Linked DNA regions of Homo sapiens: region 2 is linked to region 1. The links are contacts of gene promoters, found by promoter capture Hi-C in human tissues and cell types (Jung and others, 2019). All regions are on one chromosome and are shown on one strand. The core of a region is centred on a gene start or on the middle of the fragment in contact, and the rest is flanking DNA. Distances in the headings are between cores, read along the strand shown. Region 1 holds the start of AGO4 (argonaute RISC component 4). Region 2 overlaps PSMB2 (proteasome 20S subunit beta 2).

Region 1 (2,976 bases), core at 350-2,849:
TCAAACAATATTAATGCGGCAAGCCAATTTATTTTTAAAAGGCATATGAAATTTGATTATGAGGGCCTTTAAACAATACTTTAAGAAGCAAATTAGGGTGGGGCTTAATCACTCAGCTATGCAAACAAGTGCTAAGTAAACAAACGTGCCAAGTTTCCAAACTCAAATGGCAACTCGAATTTTCTACGCACTAAAAAGATGAAACACTCTACGACTAAGTTCATTATGTAGGTAAAGTTTGAATATTAAAGTGAATTCCACCACAGCCCCTAAACACTGAGCTACTTAGCCAAGGCATTAGAAACCTGTTGGGCTTTGAGGTGGAAGCACCAGGCCCCAATACTCAGGACACTTGTTACAGCCTGGAATGGTTCTTCTGGTTTGGATAGAGAGAAATAACCAGAGGCCATCCATATCCACAACAAATTAGTTTCCAAAGCACTTTCTCCTTCATTTGATCCTCACAACCACTCATAACCCAATTAGAAGAGAACTCAGGGCATTGAAGCCTGTGGTGGAGCAGACTGACTGGCAACTCCTGTGTCACTCAAAGGCTGGCTCAGACCACTCTGAGACTAACACACAGACTGAGTGACAGAGGCACAGGACCATGTTCTTTGGGACATCAGGGCCTTTCAGAAAGGGTGGGCATTTTGTCCCTTGACCTTCAGAGATCATGAGAGGTGTTTGGATGAAGTTCTTCTTCCTCATCTGAAGGCTCTGGACCATCTGCCAGTGCAAAGAAAAATAGGGGCGCGGCCCCAAACCAGGACTACCGGCTGGTAGTAGGCAGCGGGGCCCTTTTCCCGGTCTGGGCCAGGCCTCCGCGCGCACTGGGTAGCGGATCGCCCCCTTCTGAGGCCCAAACTACCCTCGTCGCGACCCCGGGCACATATCGTCTCCCCGAGGTGGGGCCAAGAGTGGCCTCCGCCCGGCAGCGCCGGTCACCTTCCCGAACCTCCCCCCTGGACCTCGGGATCCACCCAACGGCCGGCTGGGGCGCGGTCACCGCCCCCCAGGCCCGGGTCAGCTCCCTCCGCTTCGTGCTGCGGGGCTCGGGTCCCCTTCCCCGAGGCCTGGCGGCCCGAACCCGGCGAGGCGACGGGGCAGCGAAAGTCCCGGCCGCCCGCCCCGGGTCCCGGGTCCCGGGTCCCGCCCCGACCCGAGCTCGCTCCTCACCGGGTCCCAGCGCCTCCATGGCGGCGGCGGGGGCCGCCTCGCCCCGGTCCCCGGCGCCTCCCGCTCCGGGCCCCGCCGCCGCCGCCGCCGCCGCCGCGTAACGCTTGATCTCCGGAATATTGGCGCTGGGGTGGCGCCGCGGAGACGCGGGCGCTGGGCAGGGGGCGGCGGCGGCGCCCGGCCCGGGGACAGGGACCCGGCTCCGGCTCTTCCGGCCTCAGCGACAACAAAAACAATCCCCGCCGCCGCCGCCGCCGCCGCCGCCAACGGGAGCGGGAGCGGGAGCCAGCGCGCGCGCCCGCCGGGAGGGAAGGGGGCGCGGGGTGCGCGGACCCAGGGTCCCGGCGGGCGGAGGGGGCGTGCGCGGCCCCGGGCGCGGGGTCCACAGAGCCCGGCAGGCGGCGAGGCGGGTCGGGGAACGAGCGCGCGCCCGGAGGGTGCAGAGCCCGGTGGACGTGTCGGGCACGCGCCCGCTGGCCCGCTCTGCCCCGTCCACCCGAGGAGGCCGTCCGGTGGCCAACGGCTCTGGGGGCTACGTGCCATCCCCCCAGGGCGTCCTGCAAAAGATCTGGATTCCAGTTCCGCTGACCCACAGATTCAGTTTTCCACTTCTGTGAGTGGAAAGTGTACTGAGATTCACAGGAGCCACCTCGCCTCCCTCCTCCCTCCTCCCACCCCAGATCGCTTCTGTCATCTCGTCTTTTAGGGTCACCTTAGACGCTAGCAGTCCTCCTTCATCCCTTCATTCAGCACCACACACCCAACTGCGCGTCCCTCTCCGTATAGCCGGAAGGCACCACGGGAATGGACCCTGATGAATGATGCATTCCCTCCCTGGTCCCATGACAAGCGCCTCTGGTCAGCAAATCACCAGTCACTTTAGAAGAGAAAGGTCTTGGCCGGGCGTGGTGGCTCACGCCTGTAATACCAGCACTTTGGGAGGCGGAGGCGGGTGGATCACCTGGGGTCAGGAGTTTGAGACCATCCTGGCCAACATGGCGGAAGCCCATCTCTACTAAAAACACAAAAAATTAGCCGGGCGTGGAGGCAGGCGCCTGTAATCCCAGCTACTTGGGAGGCTGAGGCAGGAGAATCGCTTGAACCCGGGAGGCAGAGGTTTCAGTGAGCCGAAATCGGGCCACTGCACTCCAGCCTGGGCGACAGAGCAAGACTGTCTGAAAAAAAAAAAATAAAAATAAAAGAGAGAGAGAGAGAGAAAGGTCTTGCTTTCTTGGATGCCTTCCCCTTAGCAGACAAAAGCCAAGGGAGCAGCACCACCTCCAAGGCAGCATGGTCAGCCCAGCAGGCACAGCATCTTTAGGGCTTTCAGTAAGGACTTTGAGTGGGAGAACACTGGACAACAGGCCAAGAAGCAGTTTCTAGTCAGCAGAAGGAAGGAGCCCCTTGTCCACCAATTGAAAAGGTACGATGAGTTTGTGTGTGTGTGTTGTATTCCTTTGCTACGGCATAACGTAACAAAGTACCACAGACTGGGTGGCTTAAACAACAGAAATTTATTTTCTCACAATTCTGGAGGCTGGCAGTCAGAGATACGATGTAGGCAGGGTTGGTTCCTTCTGAGGCCTATCTCCTTCACTTGGTAGATAGTGGCCTTCTCCCAGTGACTTCACGTGGTCTTCCCTCTGTGCACGTCTGTGTCCAAATTTCCTCTTCTTATAAGGACAGCAGTCCTATTAGAGTAGGGCTCACTCTAGTGACCTCGTTTTAATTTAATTACCTCTTCAGAGACCCTGTTTCCAATTACAGTCACATCCTGGGGTGCTAGAGTTAGGACTT
Region 2 (2,976 bases), core at 236-2,735, 170 kb after region 1:
TGCTTTCTTATAAAAGTGAGGCATGTTAAGTATAGAAGTTTTAGGAAAAACCAACAAGCAAAAGAAGGAAACGAAAACTGCCCATACTCTTACCACTGGCAAGCACTTAGAATATACCCTTCTGCTCCTTTTTCTTTGCATAGATAATATAAGTGAATGTTTTTCGTTTATTAACAAGTTTGCAAACTAACAATCTTTAAATCTAGCCTGCATAACAAATAAAAGTGTGTTTGTTTAGGAGTTTTGAGGCAATTTGATATTATCTACAGGTGCATTTTGTGTGTTTTTTCCCTCCAAGTCTAAGAAGCCATATTACTGGTATCTACAACTCTGAAACACTTGTAAAGTATTTGACAGTAGCATTTTGTTCTTTAAATCCTATTAAAGGATTTTGGCATTTCAGAAGCTTTCAAACAGGAAACGTGTCTCCCAGGGAGGATTATTCAGCACTATTTGAAAAATGAAAAGTGAAAGTGAAAGTGAGATAGGAAGATTTAGGCCTTTTCTGAAGCTGCAGACTGAATGTGGAGTTTTCTTCCTTAGGCAATAACTGTAACCTGAATATTTATTTATCTGTCTAATCTGAATGACTCTGGTTCAGCTAGATAAGATTAGAGTATTAGGATTTTTGTGAGGTATTTTAAATAGCTTACTGTCAAAATATTCACTAGAATTTTTGCTTTGGCAATCATTTTAATTTTCTCTTTTTCTTTGGAAGTGGAATTTGTTTACTTTTTAAAGTGATTAATATTCTCAGTTGATTTTCTATTCTTTCTTGAAATGGTTCCTTAATTTTAATTATAGCACCAGTCCTTTTCATATATGCTTTTGTATGTGTATAAATATAATAACTAACATTTGTAGTTGTGGAAACATTTTAGGGCTTTGTTATCATGAGCCTAAAGATAATCGCCATTGGCTGGATTCCTTCAGTTTCTTCTGTCGTTCTGTTCCTTGCATTTCAAATGCCTTTAAATGCTTTAAATTGTATTTTCAATTGGTAGCTTTCATGTATATTCTCCAACCGAAATTGGCATTACACAATATGCTGATGGTTTAACATGAAGAGTGAAAGAGAAAAATTGATACCATTACCTATTAAAATCTTCTAAAAGCAATAATTAGTTAAATTATTCAATATACAGTCGTCCCTTGGTATCTGTAGGGATTGGTTCCAGAACCCCTGCAGATACCCAAATCCATAGATGCTTAAAGTCCATTATATACATGGTATAGTATTTGCATATTACCTATGCAGGTACTCCTGTGTACTTCAAATCATCTCTAGATTATTTATAATACTTAATATGACATAAGTGCTATGTAAATAGTTGTTATACCATATTGTTTAGGGAATAATGACCAGAAAAAAAGTCAGTACATGTTCAGGATAGATGCAAGCATCCATTTTTTTTTTTTTCTGAATAATTTTGATCCATAGTTTGTTGAATTGTGGATTCAGAATCCATGTATATGGAAGGCCAACTGTAGTAATTAATAAACCTGTTTATGGTTACATAAATAATGACGGTCAATGTCTGTTAAGGCAGTTTCTAACACAGTTTTCTTCTTTGAGCAGATCATGACAAGATGTTTAAGATGAGTGAAAAGATATTACTCCTGTGTGTTGGAGAGGCTGGAGACACTGTACAGTTTGCAGAATATATTCAGAAAAACGTGCAACTTTATAAGATGCGAAATGGTGGGTAAGACTTACAGTTTTAGTTGGCATATGAGTTTACTAGGGCTGCCATTACTAAAGTCACAGACTGGGTGGCTTAAACAACAGAAATGTATTTTCTCACAGTTCTAGATGTTAGAAGTCAAAGATTAAGGTGTTGGCAGCGTTGATTTCTGAGGCCTCTCTCCTTGGCTTGCAGATAGCCATCTTCTCCCTGTGTCTTCACGTGATTTTTCTCTTTGTACTATATCCAAATTTTCTCTTCTAAGAATACCAGTCATGTTGAATTAGGAACTCATTTTAATTTAATAACCTCTTAAGGATCCCTTCTCCAAATACAGTCACATACTAAAGTACTAGGGATTAAGACTTCAACATATGAATTTTTGGTGGACAAAATTCAGCCTATAACAATTGGTTTGTCTTTAAATTTGAACTGAAAAATAATATTCTTTAAGACTTATGTGGTCATATTTTCTTTTTTTTTTTTTTTTTTTTTTTTGAGACGGAGTCTCGCTCTGTTGCCCAGGCTGGAGTGCAATGGCGCGATCTCTGCTTACTGCAACCTCCGCCTCCCAGGTTCAAGCGATTCTCCTGTCTCAGCCTCCTGAGTAGCTGGGACTACAGGCACGCACCACCACGTCCAGCTAATTTTTGTATTTTTAGTAGAGACAGGGTTTCACCACGTTGACCAGGATGGTCTCCATCTCTTGACCTTGTGATCTGCCCACCTCGGCCTCCCAAAGTGCTGGGATTACAGGCGTGAGCCACCACGCCCAGCCCATATTTTCATTAGAGTTTTCTGTGTTTAAGAAGTTGTCTAGACCCTAAAGATTCTAATCCTTCATAAAAGATTTTCTACAAAAATCCTAGAGCAGAGAACTGTTGTAACACTGATAGCTGATAGATAAAACTAACACCATCGGCCTGGTATGATGGCTCATGCCTGTAATCCCAGCAATTGGGGAGGACAAGGTGGGAGGATCACTTGAGACCAGGAGTTTAAGACTAGCCTGAGCAATGTAGTGACACCTCATCTCTACAAAAAAAAAAAAAATTTTTTTTTTTTTTGAGATGGAGTTTCACTCTTGTTGTCCAGGCTGGAGTGCAGTGGCACAATCTCGGCTCACCGCAACCTCTGCCTTCCAGGTTCAAGCAATCCTCCTGCCTCAGCCTCCCAAGTAGCTGGGATTACAGGCATGTGCCACCACGCCTGGCTAATTTTGTATTTTTAGTAGAGACAGGGTTTCTCCATGTTGGTCAGGCTGGTCTCAAACTCATGACCTCAGATGATC

What was found. The method cuts DNA at HindIII sites, captures the fragments that hold promoters and counts their contacts. A contact is called where the count stands out against the background at its distance.
Region 2: a contact is called between a fragment that was not itself captured here and the fragment with the promoter of AGO4 in region 1, in 1 of the 25 tissues and cell types used here (hippocampus).

The regions. Positions count from the first base shown.
Region 1 is chr1:35,806,639-35,809,614 of GRCh38, reverse strand. AGO4 (argonaute RISC component 4) reads right to left here and starts at 1,599. Exons shown (of 18, transcript NM_017629.4): 1 at 1,180-1,599. The coding sequence starts at 1,198. CLSPN-DT (CLSPN divergent transcript) reads right to left here. Exons shown (of 3, transcript NR_199050.1): 3 at 2,675-2,870. RefSeq lists enhancers at 547-826, 1,926-2,425 and silencers at 977-1,226, 1,507-1,716. The HindIII fragment of the contact is 21,017 bases long and covers 1-2,976 here.
Region 2 is chr1:35,635,036-35,638,011 of GRCh38, reverse strand. It overlaps PSMB2 (proteasome 20S subunit beta 2), which reads left to right. Exons shown (of 6, transcript NM_002794.5): 2 at 1,580-1,702. Among named protein-coding and RNA genes, the nearest start is that of PSMB2, 5.0 kb to the left of the region's middle. The HindIII fragment of the contact is 7,718 bases long and covers 1-2,976 here.